Regions from separate parts of the Homo sapiens genome. Here regions 1, 2, 3, 5 and 6 are each linked to region 4. The links are contacts of gene promoters, found by promoter capture Hi-C in blood cells and fetal thymus (Javierre and others, 2016). All regions are on one chromosome and are shown on one strand. The core of a region is centred on a gene start or on the middle of the fragment in contact, and the rest is flanking DNA. Distances in the headings are between cores, read along the strand shown. Region 1 overlaps NLRP14 (NLR family pyrin domain containing 14). Region 2 overlaps NLRP14 (NLR family pyrin domain containing 14). Region 3 has its middle 31 kb from the start of RBMXL2. Region 4 holds the start of OVCH2 (ovochymase 2). Region 5 overlaps ZNF214 (zinc finger protein 214). Region 6 overlaps NLRP14 (NLR family pyrin domain containing 14).

Region 1 (3,802 bases), core at 843-3,342, 680 kb before region 4:
TAGGGGCCTATAAGGAAGTCTCTCAAACTCTTAGTAAAAATGGAATACTACCACTTTTATTTTACCTTTATGCTTGTGGTAGACAAGCGAAGTGACAAGTTCTTTCAATTTGGCAAAGAAATCCTACAAGCATTTTTACCTTTTTGCAACACAGAGATGTCATTTAAAGTATATTAACAGCAACAAATGAACAAGTACTACAATCACTCATATTTGCAGACCTTTTAGATATTAAAGATCACTTTCACGAGGCATTGCAATAACTTCAAAAGTCCAGGTTTCTTATAAGATCTCTCTGAAGAAATAACACTTCCAAATATAAGTTTATATATAAACGCCTCTATCCTCTTCCACACATTTACCACAGAAGATACAGTGTTCAATATAGGATCTTTGCGCTCAGCAAACCTGTGGGCACACGTCCTTCCAAAACAAAAATAGAACAAGATAATAACAGTATGAATATTTATACGGATATCTTTCATGGGACAGCAAAAATGTTCTATTTCATGGTTTTATGTGCATGTTAGAAACAATTTCAAAACCAAACCTAGAATTTATAGTTTCTCTTAAGATGCACATACTCGTGAATGTAATATTCAGCACATTATAGCAATTTAATATAGTATGTTGTAACCAAACTAAAAAGAGTTTACCTTTTCTCTCACCCTACACTTGGTTATCCTTTTGAGGTAGTTTTTGTATGAATCTTTATAATCTAAGCTTCTGATTTCTGGTTGTTATTGAGGTTGTTGGGCCCATCTTGCTAACTAGCATGCCTGAGTCCTTAGTATCAGTTGCCTAGAGTGTACATTTTCTTAATGCCAACGAATACTGGCTCCTCCTTTGCCAATAACGCTTAAAGTTCTCCATGAAGAGTCCAGCTGAAGAAATGCTGTCTTAAATAAGGATAAATCACCCAAATCTGGCTGCTATATGAATATGAAAACTTGTTCCAAATGGGTAATCCTTAGAAAAAGGAAGCCATCAGAACAGAGCATCCATTTACCCATGTGATCCAGAGGTTTCTCATCTGAGAGGCAATTCTCAATCCTGAAGCTACTGGATCTATTAGCTTCTAAGACTGTCTTCAGGGGCCAAGGCCATGAATTCATCTTAGAGCAGTTCTAGTCATGTAGGATTTGAATGAAATTGCACTATCCATAAATCAACACACAGCCTTGGTGACTACTGTGGTCGATTTGACTCAGCTGTTCCTTAAATATATCGAGTAGGCTCTTAACTGAGGGTCTCTGCACTTGCTATTTCTTCCTCCTGGAATGCTCCATCTCCCAGATATCTGCATTGTTCACACTTTCACATTCTGCAAATATCGCCTTAGCAGTGGCTTCTCTTGCTATTCAAAGAGAAATAGGACCCACCCCCACTTTTCACCCCCAGCGCTGTATTCCTTGCCCCACTCTGATTTTCTCCATAGCAATGATTACCACCTGGTATACTACAATTCATTATTTGTGCCCCTTCAACAGAATGTAAGCTCCATGGAGGTAAGGGCTAGATGAGCAAGACTTTGGATATTTTATTCACTGCTAGACAGGGTCCAGAAAACTGACAGGCACAAATAAGATGCTCAATAATCGTACGGATTTTAGATGGACGAATAAAGGGACACTGCTTATTGGGAGTCAGCCAGTCTGGGAAAGGTCCTTCAAAGCTGGGGTTCAATTCCCCGACTTCCTCTTTCCCACATCGGGAAAGCAAGGAGGAAGGACGTGCGCCCACAGGTTTGCTGAGCGCAGGGGATCCTATATTGAACACTGAATCTTCTGCGGTAAATGAGTGGAAGAGCAAGCATAGAGGCGGAGAGTGGGAGCAGAGCTCCCTTGGCCCCTCCAGCCAATGGGAAGAGAGATTCGCTAGGTCAGGCGGTGGGGTCCAACCACCCACGCTGGCCCGCAGCCCTCTTAGCGGGTTTGCTCTTCTCTCAGGGGAGGAGGAAGGTGAGGCATTAAGGGCCAGAGTGCGTTCCCCTTTCTGGTGGAACAGCAAATGCCTGTTGATCCTTTCCTGTCCTTCTGAGGCCTGGCTTTTGGCGCTTATACCCTTTGCCACCGACGCCTGGTGAGACCGAGGTATGGAATGACTCTCCTCTTCTCTGGATGCGTACTTTGTCCACTCTAAAATGGGAAGTTGGGTTCTGTGCGAGTCCATCCAGCGTCCACATTCTGTGTGGAAAATGAAAGGGATGTGGACTCAGGGCCCAAGAGGATGAGCTGCCAGGACACCCCAGGGTGGGACACTTCTGGGCATGGCGCCGGCCATGACCAGGGTGGAAAAGCGACCTTGAGGGTGCGAGTCCACGGTCACCTGCAAGTAGTCTTCGGCTGGAGACCTAGTGTGGCCTGTATCCATTTGTCAAATTCCAAAGAGATAAATGAATGCCTGCCAACTGTGCTTGAATTTGGCAGGCACTGCGTGCAGTGCCCGCTTCTTGAATCTCCTGGATTAAAGCGGTATGAATAGCCCCACTTTCACCAGCCTTGACGAATGGAGGCAAGCCCCTCGCCTCTCTAACCAGGAGCAGGTGTTCGTCCTTCAGTCTGAAGCTATTCCCGCCACCTGTGTTCTGCCGTCTTTCATTCACTCTGAGTCTTCCCCTAGCCCCTCTCCCTACTGAAAACGAAACAAACCGCCTGAAAACTGCTTTGCAGGTGCAACAGCTGCTCTCACTGGTGCTCCAGGTTATCAGTATCTGTCTCTCCACTTCTCCCTAGCAAAGTTCAAGAAATATTAGTAAGGTAGCACATGCTTGCTCCCGGCGTTGGTCATCCTCTCTAGCCTATAGTGCTTTAGTGCTTTAGCACCCCCACTCCCTCTACTCCAGCAGTGACCCAAAATTGCTCTCTCTATGCAAGTTAGCAATTATTGCCAACACGCCAAATTCAAGTACAGATGGCAGGCATTCATTTCTTTAACTTTTTGGAATTTGGCAAATGGATATTGCCTTTTTACCTTTTTATTTCTCCACTTATTTAAGGAATGTATTCTAATGAGAGATAATTGTCAAAAATTGTCCTAAACTCAGTTGTGTTTTGAGTTAGGACAATTTGTGGTAATTATTTTAAGTACATTTTGGTTTTTTTTATGTAGAGGTTTTGTTTTCTTTGCTTAGTTGTAATCTTCATATACCTGCCAACTGTTTTGCTGTATGACGAGGTCATTTTCATGACTAAAAATCAAGTGTGTGCTATATTTTTATACATTCATTATAATTGAATCCTTATTGACAATTATTTACTATTCTAAACAAACACCCTTATGCACAAAACTTTCTTTTCTGTATTTAGGATTTTTTTTTCAGTGGATGATTTCCCAAAGAAGATACTGTTTGAAAACTCATGCATGTTTGTAAAATTCTCAGTAGACATGCAGACATGCAGTTTTTCAAGAGTGTAGCAATTAACATTTATATTAACTCCTTTTATATGGTACTGCTTTTTAAAGCTTATTTTTGTCATTTTGTTCTTTGAGAAGGGCTGTTTCCTGGTTTGCATTAGTTGTGCTATCTGCCTAAGTTTGAAAATTTTCTGAAATACTTGTTAGCCATTTGCTTTTTGCTTTTTTTCCCCTTCTATGAATAGGCTATTCACAATAAATTTGCTTTATTGCTATTCTGATCTATTTGTATCATGTCATTTTAGGGATATGAACATTTTCAAGACAATATTTTAGTGTGAACTGTAACTCATAAAAGACTGCACTGAGCATAAACATGCAGCTTGGTAAATGATTACCAAGTGTTCACTCATGTAAAACATCAGCAGGTCAAGGAATAGGACAT
Region 2 (3,987 bases), core at 705-3,204, 640 kb before region 4:
GAGTTCATAGTTTTCCATTAGGAAAATGATGCCTATTTGGTAGCTAGTATAGCTAGAAGATATTTAGTGTATGGAGAGAGGATAAAAACTAAATGGGGCTAGAAGGTAAGTTACTCTCAGAAATAAGAATCTAAATTTCAAATAAATGGATCAATGTACTGCATGTTCTTTAGTATAGAAGCCATATTTCACATTTCTTTGTGTCCCCTTTAGTACCTTGGACAGATACTTAGTACGCAAATGGTACCTGGTTTGGGTCTTCATGTTCTGTCATCCTTCAGATAGTCTACTTGTCTTTGAATTAATTTTTTTATTAAATTGAAGACTTTTACTAATTATCTTCTATCTGTAAAATACTATGTTCTTAAGGAGCTTGTAATAAAATCACATTCTGTGTTGTGGACATTTCTTACGTTCAATTCTGTGTTTAGATTTTTATTTAATTTTGAACTGATATTGGCTAGTACATTTTCACTTATACAACATGAATTATTGACCTCAGGGTCAAGAATTGTGCTCTATGTGTGGGAAGCTCAGACATAATGACATGTGTCATCCTTTAGAAATTTAACAGTCTTCCAGAGAAATCTCCCCTGACTCTTCCAAGAAAATGAAGCTGTTATATTTCCATTGACTATATATTTTTATAATAGCAATGATGATGATGTAACTGTTAGGTCTGAGATTTAATTTTATCCTACTTACAACCTAATAAATTCACCGGTTACTGTTTCATGGATGCTGGACAAAAAACAAAACCAAACCCACAAGACTCTTAGGAGAGACAAAGGACTTTATTGCTTGTAGCAGAGCAAGAGCATGAGTATTAGCATGTTTGCGTCAGTTCCTTTTGTCCCCCGAGTCTCACAGGGCTGATGAAGAGGGTCCAGATGGATGCCTGCACATGCAACATTGAGACTGAGAGACCTAGGATTTTACAGGAGGCAGTAATAAGCCTGCTGTTTGTCCCTCAAGGTTGCTCATTACAAACACAATCCTGGAAAATGGCCCAGGTAAAGCGCTGTCAGGGCCTTGCATTTTTGTTAGCAAACATGTAGCAGAGAGAAAGACCTATGGAAGAATATCTCCCCAAAATATCTACCCCTTGTTTCTACACAGTAAAATCTTGGCTTCTGGTGAATTTTCACATAAATATGCTACTCCATTGGCCACTCTGATTAACAGAGACTGGGACCAAATCTGTTCAGTTAATCTCATCTACCATTTAATTAAGGCCACTAATAACAAAACTCCAAGCATGTGATGAGCCCAACTTGTAGTATTGATTTCAAACATTCCCACAGGGGTCTGACTCAGTCAACTGAGTAAGTCCCAGGAAGGACTACTAGGTCTTTTATGCTTTAGAACCCATACAAGGGAGTCTAAAATGAGCTGCCATTCTTTGGTGTCACTGGCAATAAATAAACAAAGATGGGCCAAAAGCAGCCCTCCTCCCCAGTAAAGAGACAGTTAGCAGTCCACTCTTCCCCACATGCAAACATGTAACTGAAAGGGGTAGAGGTCACTCTAATTTTGGATTTGCTGTTATATTTTATTTGGTTAGCCATTGCACTAGTTTGGTTAAGCCAGGTAAGCAGTCTCACTGGTAGTTGTAGCTTCCTCATTCTCATACGTGGTATAGTCCAAGGCTGTTCTAGCATCAAGAGAAGCTTGCAGATTTGTATCGAATTGAAACAAGGTTGTGCTAGTGATTGTGTTTGTATACATATGATAAGATTCCACATTAGGAGGTTGCTATTGATGGCATCAGGCACAGCAAAGTAGTTCAGGACCTGCTATGTCTACATGAGATTTTCTATTTTCATAGTATATAGACAGGCATGACAAACCAGGCCGAGGGTCAGTCTGTCAGCTGCAGTTGCTGCTTAGACTCCACAGACCACATAATTATTTTGCCAGGCCAAGGTGTTGGATCTAGGAGAAAAAAGAGAGAGTGAATTGTTCTCCTCACTCTCCACACCTCCAGGTTCTAAAGTGTTCCATTCCAAATATTGTTGCTGCTCTTCCCCTACACCAATGAAATCAGTTTGTGCCATCCCAGTGGCTAGAACTTCACCTATTCTCCAATTATCCTTTACTTGCATGGAGACCTTTGGTCTGGAGGAATCATACAAATGGGAGAGAGAGAAAAGCATCTTTACAATATTTACAGAAACCCATTATATCTTATACATTATATACCAATTCTATATTATCTGAATATCAAAGGCAAATTAGGAAGCTTTGGAGCCTCTAATCTACCTTTTAAAAATATATGTAGCTGTAAAGTTCAATTTTATAATTTTCCTATATACTCTTTTTTTTTCCAGCAAAAAGTATTGAAATTTTTATCCCCTCTGCTTGGTAGGGACATCTTTGTTATAAACCACATTTTCATTGGTGCGTGGATCTGTTCCTGGGTTCTGTTTTCCTTTCCACTGACCTGTTTGTAATTCCCAGTTCTAACAATGCTGTCTTAATTAATATAGCTCTATGATAAGCCCTGATACGCACTACAGCAATTCTTCCCATCTTCTTAAAGAGAATTTTGGCTCTCCTTCCCCTTTACATTTGCAAATAAATTGGAAATATCAACTTATCAAGTTACATACATATGTACTGCCCCCCAACCTACCTATATGTTGGCGTATTGAATCGAATTGCATTAAATCTATCAGTGAGTCTCCTGATACACCAAAAAGACATATCTCATTTATTTAGGTCTATCAATAAAGCTTAGTAATTTTTTCTTGAGTGGTCTTGTATTTTGTTACTGGTTAACTTTATTCCAAAGTGCTTACTATATTTCATGCTGTTGTAAATGATTGTTTTAGTTATTTTTTCATTGTGTTTATACATAGAAACATAGGAGTTTTTAAAGTTGGTTTCTTATCCAATAGCCTGCCACATTCTCTTGCTTATTCTAGTTGCTAATTTGTAGATACTTTTGTATTTTTTAGGTATACAATCACATCATTTGGGAATAATACAATGTAGTTGTTTTTTCCTTTTCTGTTCTTATATTCTTTTTTCATTTTTTATATGCCTTAGTAACTGTTAATATATGTGATATAATGTTAATATGTCTGGGGATAATGAACTTTCATATGTTGTTCACAATGTTTGAAGCACAACTTCAGTGGTTCACCAATTTATCAATTTAAGGAAATTGCCTTCTACACCTAGTTTTCTAGGAGTATTCTTTTTCTTTTTTTTAATTATACTTTAAGTTCTGGGATACATGTGCAGAATGTGCAGGTTTGTTACATAGGTATACACGTGCCACGGTGGTTTGCTGCACCCATCAACCCATCATCTATATTAAGTTTTTCTCCTAATGCTATCCCTCTGCTAGCCCCCATCCCCCAACAGGCCCTGGTATGTGATGTTCCCCTCTGTGTGTCCATGTGTTCTCATTGTTCAACTCCCACTTACAAGTGAGAATATGGGATGTTGGATTTTCTGTTCTTGTGTTAGTTTGCTGAGAATGATGGTTTCCAGCTTCATCCATGTCCCTGCAAAGGACATGAACTCATCCTTTTTTATGGCTGCATAGTATTCCATGGTGTATATGTGCCACATTTTCTTTATCCAGTCTATCATTGATTGGCATTTGGGTTGGTTCTAAGCTTTTGATATTGCAAATGGTGCTGCAATAAACATACATGTGCATGTGTCTTTATAGTAGAATGATTTCTTATCCTTTGGGTGTATACCCAGTAATGTGATTGCTGGATCAAATGTTATTTCTGATTCTAGATCCTTGAGGTATCGCCACACTGTCTTCCACAATGGTTGAACAAATTTACACTCTCACCAACAGTGTAAAAGTGTTCCTGTTTCTCCACATCCTCTCCAGCATCTGTTGTTTCTTGACTTTTTAATGATCACCATTCTAACTGGCATGAGATGGTATCTCACTGTGGTTTTGATTTGCATTTCTCTAATGGCCAGTGATGATGAGCTTTTTTTCATATGTTTGTTGGC
Region 3 (3,943 bases), core at 92-2,591, 590 kb before region 4:
TTAAGGCACAGGATAAGAATGAAGTGAGGAAGATAACAACATTATTGAATGCCAGAATAAAAGCTACAGATGCATAGTGGATCAGCAGAAAGGAGTAGAGGGCATAGTAACGTTGAAAGAGGCATCAATGGGGAAATAAAAGGGCAGAGATTGAGAGACCATATATAAGAATGTATGTTATAAACAGGTGGAGATGTGAGAAAAATCCTTTCTACTCGAAGTGTGGTCCTCAGATCAGCAGTGATGTATCAGCTGGAGCTTGTTAGAAATGCAGGATCTCAGACTCCACCTATAATTAAAATGCATTTAACAAGATCCCCACTTGATTTCAGTGCACATTAAACTTTGAGGAGGGTGCATCAAAGGTACACACATGGATGATGAGAAAACCTTGCAGATGGGTGGTGGAGGGAGCAGCTTGATGGATGAGATGAAGACATATATATATATATATATATATATACACAAAAATGTGCCAGGAGGAAGGTGGTCATGGAGTAGTTTGTGGGTAGTTTAGCTGATTATGAATTATATATTAGTTTCCACTCATGCTTTCAGAGCCTCAATGGTATGAGACAAAGCATGAGAGTGTTAAGGAATGGAGTGGGAGATTCCTAAAAGATTCTGATGTTATTAGGAATTGGTTTTAATTTTAGGCTTTTGTCACTGAATGTACATTTTTCTTCCCTTTTGTTTGTTTGGCTATTTTTAATTGAGAAAGCTGTATTGTGGGGAGCTATTCAAAAGTGACTTAAAGCAAGAAGTCACTCCCATAAGCTTGGCTTCTGAACATTCTTGCTTCTTCCTCTCATTCTTCAATCATTTTCTCATAGGCTGTTTTGCAAGTCTTCAAGTCTTCTAGGCATCCCTTGGATGTTTTTGTTTTCAGGATCTGTTCTCGGCTGTCTCTTCTCTTTTCACAGAACAAAATTCTCTAGGTTGTATAATCGATTATTGCAGTTTCCACTACCACTAATACACTAGTGACTTTCAGAGTTTTATCTTCAGTCTTGTTCAATTGGGAGCGTCAGACCTACTGCTCAGTTCATATATCTTACTGGATATACAACAGGCAACTCACATGGTTATGGACTGAATGTCTGTGTCCTTCCGAAATTCATACATTGAAAAATCCCAACCCCCAGTGCAGTGGTACTGGGGGAGGGTCTTTGGGAGGTAATTAGGTCATGAGGGTGAGGCCCTCAAGAGTGGGATTAGTACCCTCATTAGAAGATACACAAGGGAGGTGATACCTATTTCTGCTATTTGAGGATATAATTAGAAGATGGGCATTTGTAAACCTGGAACAGGGCCTTCACCAGAACCCAACTATACTGGCACTCTGATCTTAGACTTCCAGTCTCCAGAACTGTGAGAAATGAATGTTTATTCTTCAAGCCACCTAGTCGATGGTAATTTGTTATAGCAGCCTGAGCTGGCTAAGAGAGAGACTCAAGAAGTCACAAGCTGAATTCATCATCTTCTTTCTAAAACACCCTCTCTATACTCTACCAGTGAATGTTACTACCATGATCTCAGTCTCCTATGCAGGGATCATAGATGTCCCTGTATGTTTCAAGTTTTTCCACGTTCTCCATCTCTAATTATCATTAAAACATATTGATTCTATCTCCTTAACACTTCTGCATCCACCTTCTTATTTCCATTCACATGGCTATTGCCTTGGTTCAGTGCCTTCTAGATCCCTTCCCTGATATATCACAGCAGTCTTTTAACTATTTGCCACCTTCAGTGTAGCCCCATTTCAATTTTAATCTCAATGCTTCAGACAAAGTGGCATTTTAAAAACTCACATTTAGAACTAAAATATCTCTCATGTTAAAACTAGACAATAGCTCCCCATTAACTATTGAATAACTTTTAAACATTTTTGTAAATAATGTATAAAGCTTGTATCCTGCATATTGTACAGCTTTATCTCTCATTGCAGTTCTCTCTGCAGGTTTTGTCTTCTGCTTAAAATTTTCTGAATAGAAAAATCTGTTTCATACCTCCATATCTTTGTTCGTGCTGTGCACTCTACCTGTACCTTCTCTGTCTCTTCTCTTTGCCAGATATAATTTTAAGGGCTGAACAGTGATTAGCTTATACATAAAGTCTTTCCTAACCACCCCCTCCATCTTTTGTATGTACACTGAACCTTATGCAGCCTTGGATTATCACTCACATGTTCCACCAACACGGCAGTTCTAAGGCCCTGGTCTGTTTACATTATTGTTCTTACTCTTCTGATGCTTAATTGCAAAAATGTCTATTCCTGCGAGACTGCAAGGCCTGGGTGGAGGAGGCATTTAGGGCCTAGGAGACAGCATTGGCTAATGGATCCTGTGGGGCTGGAGCTAAAAAGGCATTGTTTATAAATAAAGGAAATGGCCAAAAGTAACGGGAGCCAAGTTTCTCACTGTAAGAGAAAGGATATTCAATAATTTAAAGGGTGAAAATTAGAACAGAATGGTGTTCCATCAGAATTGGAGATACCAGTATGATGAACTCTTGAGAGAGATATATATTTATATTATACACACACACAAACACACACACACACGAGAGAGAGAGTGAAAGAAAGGAAAAGGACATAGCCCTGTATGTGCATGTGTAGATAGATACATGTGTGTGTGTGTACATTTTCTATATTTTCTAGCTTTTTCTGCTGAGACAGCCTAAAAGCAATGGAGCCCCAGCAGCAAAGAACACACATAGTGTCCAGATCTGGACTTATATATGTATGTTTCTCCAATAAGAGAAACAAAGACTTTTTAGAGAAATGTTTAATTCCAGGGCTGGGGCAAGGAAAGTACAAGATGAGCCCAAAATATCTTGATTTGTCATAAAACAAGAGAATGATTAAAAACAATGTGGACTTATCAAAATGACACAGTAAGCAGCCAGAAGGACCACTGGGAGAGTTTCAGCATCAAAATAAATAAAGATAGTAATGAATTATAACCTATTGATTAAAATAAGGATCAGTGAGTCCATAGTGAGATAAATGATTAAAGAAATATGGGAGAAGCAAAAGCTCTTTCTTACAGTACAGAATCAACTAGTAAATGTAGAAGGAATGATAGAAAGTTAGGAAGTCATTATTAGCAAACATCATAGTAATTATTTAGGCATGAATCATCAATAGAGTATAAAACTAGTGGGTAAAAGTTTGATGAGGAATAAGATATTAATGTAATATCAAAGGATCTCTCCACAAAATACTTAATTGTAAAGGGAAGACTACAAATTTATAGTGAAGAAATTTGGCAAGCACCACCTTTATCTAGTGATAAAAATTAACATCATTTAGAATGATACAAATCAACATTGTCTTCTTGTTATGATCTGCTGAGAAGAACATAGCATCATTTCTGTGATGTTCCTGCCATAAATGCATAACCTGAATCTAATATTGAAGCAGCATTATTAAACTCAAGTTGAGGGGAATTCTACAAAATAGCTAGCTTGTACTATTCAAAAATGTCAACATCATGAACGAGAAAAGACAGAAACTGTTTCAGACGGAAGAAAATGAAAAGTGACAACGGTAGCATTTTATCTCAGGCAGAACTTGAACCAGAATATTCTTGTACTTTCCTTTGCTATAATGTACAATATTGGGACTATTTGTGAAATTTGAATGGAATTTGTGAATTTTATGGTCTCAATGTTCATTTTCTCAATTTTGTACTTATATAGGAGAGTGTCCTTTTCTTAGAGATATAGGCATAATGGATTATCATGGCTTCCACTTATTTTCAACTGGTTTGGGGGGAAAATGTGTGTGTGTGGATAAAGGCAGGGTGGAGTGGGGAGAGAGAATGGCAAAGAAATTGTGTCAAATGTTAACAATTGGGAACCCTGACAAGGCATACTGAAATTCTTTTTACTCATCTTACAACCTTTCTCTAACTTTGAAATTATTATAAAATAAAAT
Region 4 (4,113 bases), core at 382-2,881:
GACAGGTCATTTAAGGAGAGTGGAGTGAAGTGTCCTGATTCACAAGTTGGTACTCGGATAGAGGTTTGCTAGGTAATAGAAGAAAAAACTCCTCCCTCTTTATGTAAAATACTTTATCCCTGAAAAAGTTGTTTTTATTTATTTGCCCTCAATGGGTTTTCTGACTCCTCAGCAAAGAGGTAGACTAGATTAAAGATGTTTAACATCACCTGGTAACTCAAGGATGGCACATCTTCTGTCCCTCCTGGAGGTCATCCTTTTCCATATTTTGAAGGAGGATTAGAACTAGCCTTGCTTCATAATCACCATGCTTCATTGCCTACCTAAATTCTGTAATTCTTATTCCTCAGCTTGGAGATCACCTCAACCAGGAAGTCTTCCTTGATTTCCTCAAAGTGGGATTGCCTCTCCCTTGTGTTGTGTAGCACGCTTTCTTCACCCCTTTTATAGTTCTTGTCATGCAGAATTGTGATAATGAATTATTTGCCTCTATCATCGGACTATGAACTACTCAAGGGAAAAAACTTGCCTTATTCACCTCTGCATTTCTAAGGTTTAGCTTAATTCTTGGCATAAGTAAGCACTTAGAAACACTGGATGGACAAACAAATGACTTTTCTTGAGAACACATCCTTAAGAGTATAGCTATTTAGATCAACATGTTAAAATATTCAAAGCTCTTTCATACAGCTTCTCATTTAATCCCACTCTATGCCTATAAATGAAGCACTGTTATCCCCACATTGCAGATGAGAAAACTGAGAATCAAGGAGACACACAGCTGGATAATGGCAGAGCATGAATGTAACAGTAAGTGTTTTGATCCTGAACCCAGTGCCAGGATGACATTGGAACAAAAGCTTATTTTCTAACTGTTTCAGTTGAATGAGTCATAAATACTTTAAATACAAAATTTACTATTTCCCAAATTCAGTAAAGCAAAGTCAGAAAACATGTTGATTCTCAGGGTTGGCACAAGTCTGACCAAGGAGAAATCTTCCAAGAACTGTTTTCAGCTTAAGTTAGTTGAAGGGGAAAAAAGACCATTTATAATATACTACAGTGAACATGCTTCATATTTCTCAGCAAGATGATTTTGTAAAAGATTAAAAATGCTTCCAAATCCATGCTGATTTCCAGAATTTGCTCTATGAACCAAGATGGGATTATGTAATGGGTTCAAGTAAGTGAACAATCTCAGTTCACTTAGGAAAACTAAGCGAAGAAAACAGGGATTGTTTACTTAATTGGATACATTAGTTGCATTCTATAAATGTTTCACCCTGTGTCCTATGCCGATTGCAGGAGATAAGTCCAAAATAATTGTTTAAAAACAATTAGATATCCAAAATATATTTGCTTCTCCTATTTTCCCAAAGGAACATGGAGTCTCGGAGTTGTGACGTCCATTGCCAGCAAAGGTTCAGACAAAGGTAATTATAGAGTTCATTTGAAACTTACCTTTGGGGAGCGAAAGAGTTGCAGATTTACCTCGTTCAAAAAAGACTATTCCTAGTAGTAAAATCAGCTTGTTCCTGCTTATAAGCATTTTGAGACTCATAGTTTTTCCCTGAAATTTTAGAGAGACTAAAGCAAACAAAAATAGGAAGCCTTGAGAGACCAGCAATAAGCCAATTTAAAACAAGTTTATTCATTAACCAAGACGTGGTGAATCAAGCATGTCCATCTGATGTTTCTGAATGTAGTGTTTCGCAAAGATCTTTTGGAAGATGTGGAGAAACAACCACAGAAGCAGAGTCTTGATCAAGCAATATTACATATCCTATTACACCTACACCAATTAGTTGATTCCTCCAGAGTGTATCTGGCTAGCAAAGTGGTTAGCATGTAAGATTTGCATCTGCAAACATTACTTGCTCCTTTGTAGAGCTTACCACTTTTACCACTTTCTATAAGAAGATTGACTATCAATGTTGTCCTTGTTTGCAAGGGTACACTTCCCTACTTTTTTGCAAACGACCCATCCAAATGTATATAATTTTTTTGGGCAGAGATGGAGTTTCATCATGTTGCCCAGGCTGATCTCAAACTCCTGGGCTCAAGGGATCTGCCTGCCTTGCCCTCCCAAAGGTCTGGGATTACAAGTGTGAGCCACCACGCCCAGCCAATATTCTAAAATATTTTTATTTATCTTATTTTGCAAATGTAACTACATGGTTATTATAAACATATGTTGGTGAATGAGAGAAGTGGAAAGATATTTGGGTGTCACACTCAGGAAGCCCTGCTGTTAGAAAGTCATCTAGGATACTGTACATTGGGGCATTTGTGACTCTGCATTCTCCTATCATTTTTGTATTTATAGAAGGGAAACACTAAATCTCCTTTACTTCTATGCCTGGTAGATGCTTGGGAGAGTAAAGTGGCTATGATTACCTGTACATTTTCCTCTTTCCTCAACGAGTTTTGGGCACATGGTCAGTGTGTGAGAAATATTTATAGGATGGTCAATGCCATCTATGACCAGATAGAAATATAACATTTTTCTGTCAACTTTTATAAGTTACCCACTAAAAATAACAAATGTCAGCCCAAAAGCTCTTAATTTCCTTTTGGCAACTTTTGTCTTTGTACAAAAAAGTATGAAAATACAACACATACAAATAATATAAATGCAAAACAGAGAAGGTGTAAAAACTTAACATTTGTAAGCACTACATATTTAGGTACACTAATCAAGAATGTAGCCTTATGGAAAGAAGGAAACTCAAACCTCTATTGAGGCTTTATCTATAACTACTGTAATCCTGATGCCAAACATTTTTGGCTATTGGTATGGAGTGATAGCCCCAAGAGGTAATCAATCAATGTCTAAGCCCTAATCAAAGTCTCAATCTTTCTTTGACAGCAAGCTCCCTTTAAATTGCTATTGTGTTTTATCAATCACTTTTGAGAGCAACTTGACTAGGAATATGGCCTTTCTGACCCCAAATTCACTACATTCTGTCTAAAATGTGTATACTGTTAATGTCAAAAGTGCAGAAAGACCTAGTGTGGGCCTAGGATGCACTAAACTTGACAAGCCTAAAGTAGGCACATAGCATAGGACAATAAAATTTGACTCTATACTGAAAGAATGATGAGTTTTCCTTTGTAAAATGTGGGAGTGGAGCGTTTTTATTGATTGTCACACAGAAATATGATGAGCTCTTGCTTAGTGCTTAATTTCAGGAGAGGGTATTTGCTTCAAGCTCTTGCATCAGCACAACTATCAGTACACATCAACACACTCTTCACCACATGAAGCTGGTCATTAAGAGTTTGTTACTTTCATCTCTTAAGGGGCTAAAATGTGGCCCCCTTGCTGTTAAAATATTTGCTCTTCATGGGGGATGTAGCAGGTTCTAAGACACTATATTTTTGTAAGTCCAGCTATTCAACCCTCCCAGGGTCTGGATAGGAATTATAATAACTGTACATTGTAGTTACTTGCAGACAGGAATATATTAAAGTGTTGCTTGGCATGGTAGTATAAAATCAATTTTTCATTCATGAAACTATTAAACCTTTTAAAGGGGAAAAAATCTCTCTTGAGAATCTTGGACCAAAGTCTGCACCAAACATGGATTTGGAATTCAAATACATTGTTTTCCCTGTCTGTAAATCCCCAAGTTGAGAAATTAGTATCAAAATTTCTCCTGAAAGCAAAACTGTCTCTCTTCACAGATGATATGATTCTATACCTAGAAAATCTCAGGTCTACCTGTTATAACCTTCTTCTCTCTTTTTTGCAGCAATTATTTTTGTTGAAAGAATTGGTTATTTAGACCTTTAGCATTTTCTACATTCTGTATTTTGCTGATTGCAGAGCTGTGACTTTAATGTGTTCCTATAACCCTGTGATATAATCCATAGCTAATGATTATAACTTCTGTATTGTACCCTCCAATGAAAAGAGAACAACTCCAGTATGAGCAATCTCTCTCTGTCTTTTCAGATTTTTCTGTCAAAACCTTTCACCTTCTGACAGACCTCAGAACACTCCAACTTTGTTGCTGTGTCTTCCTGGGTCAATCCACACATTTGAGGTTCAATAAACCTTTATAGATTTTTTTCTGTCTTGACAGCCTCAATTTTGGTCAACAGTGCCAT
Region 5 (3,571 bases), core at 664-3,163, 690 kb before region 4:
AGAGCAAAATAAGGAAATAACTTTTGACATAAGATTTTTCAATGATGCAAGGGTGTTGTGAACTATATATATAAGGATATTTATGAGCTATAGGCAAATACACCTAAATATGTACCTAAATAAATGGATCAATTCCCAGTGAAGTATAAAAAAAATAAAATGGCAAAATAGATGAAAGACTAATAAAAAATCATATAGACTAGTAAGTACTAAATTAAAATGGTAGCCATGCTCTTCCTCCCTCTCCCTAATCCCAAGGCTCTAAGAGTTTTATAGCTGAGTTCTAGCAAACATGTAATTAACTTAATTACTATTACAATACATAGTTTTCAAAAGTAGAGAGTGAAAATTGCCAACTTATTTTATGTAGCTAGTATAATCTTGGATTCCAAGACCAGATAAGAATGATACAAATAAAATTAAATTACAGGCACATTTGTAAATTTTGTAAATATACAAAAATCCTAAATAAAATATTAGCTAATTAAATTCAGTAATATATCAAATATATGCATCATGATCAGACAGTTTATTATAGGAATGCAAGGATCGTTCAACATGAGAAAAATCTATTAACACAATTCACTATATTAATAGACTATAGAATAAATCCATGATAATCTCAACTGATGCAGAAAAATCAAGTGCTATAAAGTTCAGGAAGTTCAACACCGATGTATTCTCTTAAAAACACTTGTAGCAAACTAGAGGAAAAAAATAAACTCCCTAAAGTGGCAAAGGTTAAATATCAAGAACTTTAAGCTTAATGGAGAAACTTCACATATATTCCCTTTACAATGGTAACAAGAATGACCACCGTCACTGCTGCTTTCAACACAGCACTAGAGATTCTGGCAAATACTATAAGAAAAAGAACTAAGAGCTACAAGAATTAGAAGCAAAAATATAAAATGTCATTATTTGCATAGTTATGGCCATCTACCTAGAAAAAGAGTATACAATAAACTATAAATTAAGAGAGTTCAGCAAAACTATCAGATACAATAAATAGTTTAATGACTCAGCAATCAACTACTAGAAAGTAAGATACCATTCACACCAGAAAAAAAACCCTATCTTAACCAAGAATACAAATAATTATTTGAAGAAAACTTTCACATTCCAATAAAGAAGAAAGATTATCTAAATAAAAGGAGAAGCATGCTTCCACGCTCTTGGATGCAGTAACTTAAATTCAATACATTCCAGTCAAATATTCAGATGGCTATTCTGAGGAACGCAATAGACTTCTGTTCCTTAAAATTGACAAGGAAGGAAATAAGTTGGTAAAGACAAGTAAACCAAACAGGAAGACTACCAGATACTGACATATCACCAAAACTACAGTAGTAAAATCAGAAGAGACAAATAGACCAGTAGAACAGAGCAGAGGGCTCAGAGACTAACCAATGTGCTTCTTTATCTACAAAAACATATTAACAATAGAGGTGGCATTAAAAATCAAAGACAGAGGTAAGGATTATTTACCAGATAGCATTATGAAAACTGATTAACTATATGAGATAAAATAAAACTGGATTCCAACTTAATACCATATACAATGGTTAAGTATATAGATCAAGTAAGTACTTAAATGTTAAGGGGAAAACTATAAAATTAATGAAAAAAGATGGAATTAATGAAAAAAAAGATGGAATTTGAAAACATTTACCACTGTTAAATGAATCCAAGAGCCAGTCCTTTGAGAGGAAAAATATTAATAACAAAGTAGATAAATCACAAGCTAGTTAATCAAAGGGGGGAAAAGGAGCACAAATAGAAAAAAATAAAAATAAGATTAGGGAAATAGCAACTACAACCTTTAAAAATAACTGGAACAAAAGTTTTCTCAAATTCTTTCAAATTTTCAAAGAACAGATTATTTGATGCTATGAAATTATCCCAAGGCATCAAAAACTGTTCAAGGCATCAGAAACGAAAAACTCTTCAAGACGTCAGAAATAAAGTGAAACATAAGGCCAGTAAAATCCAGCAGCACTTGAATTCATAATCTACTACCATATCACTAATTACTTCAACATTTAGTAGCTTAAAACAACAATAATTATTTACTATTTCTTATTTTTTTTTCTGGGTCACAAATTCAGGAGTGGCTTAGCTAGGCAGCTCTGGTTTGGATCTCACAAGATAAGTTGTTGGTTACATCTGCAGTCATCAAAAGGCTTGACTGAGAAGAAGGATTCAATTCCAGGGTGGCTAACTCCCATGGCTGGCAGGCTGGTCTAAATGTTGATGAGAGATCTGTTTTTTCTCCACGTGGTCCTTTCAAGTGGCGGGGGCTATCTGTCAGCATGGTGCAAGTTGCCCAAAAGAAAGTCAAGCAAAAGCTGCATTGTTTTTATGACTTAGCCTTGGAGGTCACATCCTATCACTTCTACTGTACTCCACTGATGAGGCAATCACAAGCCATGGCTGTATTTGAGAGGGGTGGGACACAGACCCCACCTTTCAGTGGAAACAATGTCAGTCACATCATAAGAAGAGCATGAAAACAGCATAAATTGTAAGTGTTGGGAAAAAGCTGAGTGTTGTGAAGGAAACTGAGGCAGGGTTTGCATAATGTCCTTTGGAATGTGTCTAGACTTGCTGGCTCCTTGCTTCTAGCCCTCCTAGGCTCCTATTCCCACTATCTAAAGTAGCAGAACATGTTCCATATAAATGCTAAACTATCGCAGCTGTAAATCATGTGCTTAATGCAACGTGTCCTTTTGACCTCCACATTCTCACCACCTGTTTCTCTGTTGGATTACCAATAAATAGCGTGGGCTCCCAGAGCTTGGGGCCTTCGCAGCCTCCGTACAATAGCGATGGCCCCCTGGTGTTCCCACCTCCTTTTCTCTCTCACTGTCTTTTTCTCAATCCTTTGACTCCGCCGGACTTTGTCACCCCCACGACCTGGTGTTGGGTCTGATCACCCCAACAATAAGTAAGGCCATCTTTGGAAAATTCAATCTGTTATAATACCAAAGCATATTATATCATGGTAAAGTGGTAGTTTATTCCAGAAAGAAAAGGAAGGTTCAAATTAGGAAAGCTATTAACTTTAAGCTTTTATAATAACATCAAATAAGAAAAGCCATATGATTATTGTAATGGATGCCAAAAAGTATACTTATTAAAATTCAACATGCATCCTTCATTTAAAACTACAGACAAAGCATGCAAAACAAAACAAAGCAGAAGACATACAAACATATCTTAAACCCAAAGATAAAGCATTAAAGTCATTCTCATTAAAACTGGAAACTTGACAAGGATACTGCAAGTCCACAACTTTTAAACTACTGTGAAACTACAGCATAATGCAATTAGACAAAATTATCTGTAGAGGATATGACTGCATATCTGAGAGATCCAAGAAAATCAGCTGAAAACTACTGGCAATGATAAGGGAATTCATGATCCCAGAAATTCTGTTACTAGAATTATAAACTAGACATTACACATGTATACCAAAAGATCTGTACAAGAACAGTTAGAGCATAATAAATGCTGTAACAGCAAAAAACTAAAGCAATCCAAAAAGTCCAACAACAAAACAGATAAGTTG
Region 6 (3,700 bases), core at 991-3,490, 660 kb before region 4:
TATCAAGATCATGAAGCTGAGGCTCACATAGGTTAGTAAATTTTCCAGAATAACTAAGTTCAGTGAGTGGCAGTGTTGAATTGGGACTCAGAGCCGCTCCATTGTCGAGCTTATAAACACCAGGTTGTCCCCTGTTTTATTACCCTTTATTTGTTCATGAGTTTATTGATAATATTCCTAATAATTAAATTATAAAGTATTTAAAGTTTACAGTGTGCTTTTGTGTACCCTTTAAAATGCACTATTAAATTTCCACATCTTTGTGAAAGGAGACATTTCCATTTTATAGATGATGAAAATTTGCAAGTTATAGAACTTATGCAACTCTCTTAAAATAATATGGCTAGTAAGTGGTAGACCTGGGGCTCAGGCCTGTGGTTTTTAATCTATACCACTTTACACCTAATGTCTACCCACTAATCCTAATCATATTCTTTGTGACCAAATTTTATTTTTCTTTTTGATATTGGCTCTTCAAGTATTTGAATACTTCTCTCTTATCCCTCCTGAGTTGCTTCCTCTAAAGTAAAGCTTCTCTGGTTTTTATTTTGTGTGTGTTGAAGGGAGTGGATGGGAAACGGGAGAGCTATTGGACAAATAAGACCTCTGGAGTGCCCAGAGGAAGACTTCCTGGTGGACTGTGCCCACGGTGGAGCTGCACTGGATGCTCTTGCCTTTCCAAAGTACACTTACTTTTACTCCAATACTATCCTCTGAGAGTTGGCTAGGCTGAAATAAAATCAGCATTGTTTTTCTTTTCTCAATTATTTATGCAAAGGGATGGTGATCGCATTACTCACTGTTGGCAAGATCTCTGTTCTGTGCTTCATACAAATGAACACTTGAGAGAATTGGACCTGTACCATAGCAACCTTGATAAATCAGCAATGAATATCCTGCATCATGAACTAAGGCACCCAAACTGTAAACTACAAAAGCTACTGTAAGTCTGGTATGAGAAAATTTAATGGAGTTATTCTAATTTCTTTCTGTGTCCCATCTTCCACTCATACTCGTTAGGGGAAGCCAATGCTAAACAAATACTTACAATCCATTTTGTAAAATAAACAGGAACAATGGAATCCTCTGGGGACATGGGATCATTACTAACTGGTTCTCAGAGTGATTCCACAGGGCATAGTAGCTGTTCACATGGGTTTTTCAGGCTTGATTAGGAACTTTCTAAATGAAGAGCACAGAGCTAAAACATTCTAGGCAGGTCACCAATGCACTTTCAAGGACATGTTCTGGAACTTACTATCCTCTTAAATTTTTTTCTATTGAGGAAAAATTTGCATTTAACAAAGTCCACAAATAATGTTCAGTTTGTTGTGTTCTGACAAGTGTAAACATCTTTATAACCAACACACCCAAAACAAGATAGAAAATATTTTCATTTATCTCAGAAAGGTCCCTTGTACCCCTTTCGTTTTTTTTTTTCCTGAGACAGGGTCTTACTCTGTTGTCCAGGCTGGAATGCAGTGATGCTATCGCAGCTAGAACTCCTGGGCTCAAGCAATCCTGCCACCTCAGCCTCCCAAGTAGCTGGGATTACAGGCATGTACCACCATGCCAGGCTATTTTTTTTTAATTTTTTGTAGAGATGTGGTCTCACTGTGTTGCCCAGGCTGGTCTGAAACTTCTGGGCTGAGGAGATCCTCCTGCCTCAGCCTCGTAAAGTGCTGGGATTACAGGCATGAGCCACAATGTCCAGCCTATCCCTTTCTGTTCAATCTTCTCACCCCATCCATTCCCAGAGACAATCATTTTCTAATCTCTGTCACCAGAGTTCAGCTTTGTATCTTTTTGGAATCATTTTGATTGATTTATACAGTATGTATTTTTTTTAATTTATCTTCTTTCTCTTTCTTTTCTTTTCTTTTTTTTTTTTGAGACAGTCTTGCTCTGTCACCAGGCTGGAGTGTAGTGGCACAATCTCGGCTCACTGCAACCTCCGCCTCCCAGGTTCAAGCCATTCTCCTGCCTCAGCCTCCCGAGTAGGTGGGACTACAGGCACGCAGCACCACACCTGGCTAATTTTTGTATTTTTAGTAGAGACAGGGTTTCACCATGTTGGCCAAGCTGGTCTCAAACTCCTGACCTCAAGTGATCTACCCATCTTGGCCTCCCAAAGTGCTGGGATTACAGGCATGAGCCACCACACCTGGCTATATCCATCTTCTTGTGCTCAACAAAATGTCTTCTAAAATTTATCCATTTTGTTGCAACTTTTAGTAGTTTCTTTTTTATTGCTGATTAGTATTCCATTGTATAACTATACTTATACTATAATTTGTTTATTCATTCTCTTGTTAATAGACCCCTGGAGGTTTCCCTAACCTGTTAGGAATAAGGGTAATCTTTGCCAACATTAGATGCTGTCAGTCTTTTTTAAATTTTAATTTATCTTAATTGGATTCTAGATAATCACTTTAAAATGTTGATTGTTCACATGTCTCTTACCTTTTTGTGTAAGGACTCCACTAGGAGCTGAAACTGATCCTAATCTCTGTATTTTGTGCCTGTCAATATGTACAAGGTACATTTGTTGCTTAGTATGAACTGAATGCTGAACAAATGATAGATCTTTGTTTCCATTAGCACTGAAAATAGATGTTCTTTTGGGTGGGGGCTGGGGACAGGCTTCTCACCAAATATTTTCCTCCTGATCTCAGTGTTTTTAGTGAGTTCTGACCTTAGATTTCAAGCATCTAGAGTAGGCTTGGTCTTACATATAGATGTAGTAAGACAACTAGATGTATGTTATGATTACGGGGTTCCTGGAAGTCCTTTCCACTCATCCCTAAACATTTCCCCCATATTGTCCCTTCATTGGATGTCATCAATCCGGATCTTCACAATAGCCAATGCCTTCTTGGTTAACTGACTTCCTTTCTTAGAATGGGAGGGTTGCATCAGTGGGATGACACCATGATGACTGTTCTCAGTCTGTGCCACCTTAATGTGGTCTGTCTTACTGTGGTCCCTTTTTCCTAATAAGTGAGATGGTGCCATTTATGTTTACTGAGTGCCTTAGGCACTTTTACTAGATGAGGATGGTTAGTGCTATAAATGGGTAAAGGCTTTATTTTCCTGTGTGTACTTGCCTGGGGTGAGGGGAGTGAGGGTGGAGGGTGGGTGGTGGGCCGAAAGGAGGAAAGGTGGTGTTACAAAGCGAGGTTTTGGACAGTGAACAGAAGGGCATTGGGGACTAGCAGAGACACTATAGAAGAATCAGAAATATCTGACATTGACTGAGTTAGGAGGTAGAAAGTAGGAAAAAAATTGGCAGATTTAACTTCATAATATTTTGCTTGGGCTGCCTCCGTACACCTGCCTCCGTATGCCTAACGAAGTCCCCAAGATGGCACAGCATGTTTTGCAACAGCGTTTTGTTATTACTGCACATCAGACAGTTGATGCTAATTTTGAATTAACCTTGGATTATTTAAAGATTTGGCTATTGTGAATTAATGTTATTGTAGTACTTGGAATGGCCCTGATAATTTTTGATAGTCATTCCTGGGATTACAAGTTAAAGAGGCTCCTCTTCTGCTTTTCATGATGTTATCACCTTCTTTTCCGTTAAGGTAAAAAAAACTGGGGAGTGTCAATTATCAGGTCATAAATAGAAATTGAAGTTATAACCCAATTGTTTTAGATGAAAATAAGATAAAAGAATATTCATGTAATATCCAAG

The links. The method cuts DNA at HindIII sites, captures the fragments that hold promoters and counts their contacts. A CHiCAGO score of 5 or more calls a contact.
Region 1: a contact is called between a fragment that was not itself captured here and the fragment with the promoter of OVCH2 in region 4, in 3 of 17 cell types (M2 macrophages, naive B cells and M1 macrophages). The highest score is 5.6, in M2 macrophages.
Region 2: a contact is called between a fragment that was not itself captured here and the fragment with the promoter of OVCH2 in region 4, in 4 of 17 cell types (naive B cells, endothelial precursors, M2 macrophages and 1 more). The highest score is 6.5, in naive B cells.
Region 3: a fragment that was not itself captured here is called in contact with the fragment with the promoter of OVCH2 in region 4 in 13 of 17 cell types (M2 macrophages, naive B cells, total B cells and 10 more); the score reaches 11.6 in M2 macrophages.
Region 5: a fragment that was not itself captured here is called in contact with the fragment with the promoter of OVCH2 in region 4 in 1 of 17 cell types (M2 macrophages); the score reaches 6.4 in M2 macrophages.
Region 6: a fragment that was not itself captured here is called in contact with the fragment with the promoter of OVCH2 in region 4 in 4 of 17 cell types (M2 macrophages, total B cells, total CD4 T cells and 1 more); the score reaches 6.8 in M2 macrophages.

Annotation. Positions count from the first base shown.
Region 1 is chr11:7,029,133-7,032,934 of GRCh38, forward strand. All of the region lies in intron 1 of NLRP14 (NLR family pyrin domain containing 14), which reads left to right. Among named protein-coding and RNA genes, the nearest start is that of NLRP14, 11 kb to the left of the region's middle. The HindIII fragment of the contact is 2,742 bases long and covers 722-3,463 here.
Region 2 is chr11:7,062,506-7,066,492 of GRCh38, forward strand. The region is part of intron 10 of NLRP14 (NLR family pyrin domain containing 14); the gene reads left to right. Among named protein-coding and RNA genes, the nearest start is that of RBMXL2, 24 kb to the right of the region's middle. The HindIII fragment of the contact is 572 bases long and covers 1,669-2,240 here.
Region 3 is chr11:7,118,023-7,121,965 of GRCh38, forward strand. No RefSeq gene overlaps it. Among named protein-coding and RNA genes, the nearest start is that of RBMXL2, 31 kb to the left of the region's middle. The HindIII fragment of the contact is 1,133 bases long and covers 776-1,908 here.
Region 4 is chr11:7,704,846-7,708,958 of GRCh38, forward strand. It overlaps OVCH2 (ovochymase 2), which reads right to left and starts at 1,632. Exons shown (of 16, transcript NM_198185.7): 1 at 1,462-1,632. The coding sequence starts at 1,549. It overlaps LOC105376533 (a long non-coding RNA gene), which reads left to right. Exons shown (of 11, transcript XR_007062576.1): 7 at 750-810; 8 at 1,380-1,433. The HindIII fragment of the contact is 6,680 bases long and covers 859-4,113 here.
Region 5 is chr11:7,010,808-7,014,378 of GRCh38, forward strand. The region is part of intron 1 of ZNF214 (zinc finger protein 214); the gene reads right to left. Among named protein-coding and RNA genes, the nearest start is that of ZNF214, 7.8 kb to the right of the region's middle. The HindIII fragment of the contact is 2,307 bases long and covers 761-3,067 here.
Region 6 is chr11:7,045,890-7,049,589 of GRCh38, forward strand. It overlaps NLRP14 (NLR family pyrin domain containing 14), which reads left to right. Exons shown (of 12, transcript NM_176822.4): 5 at 779-943. Among named protein-coding and RNA genes, the nearest start is that of NLRP14, 27 kb to the left of the region's middle. The HindIII fragment of the contact is 3,423 bases long and covers 530-3,700 here.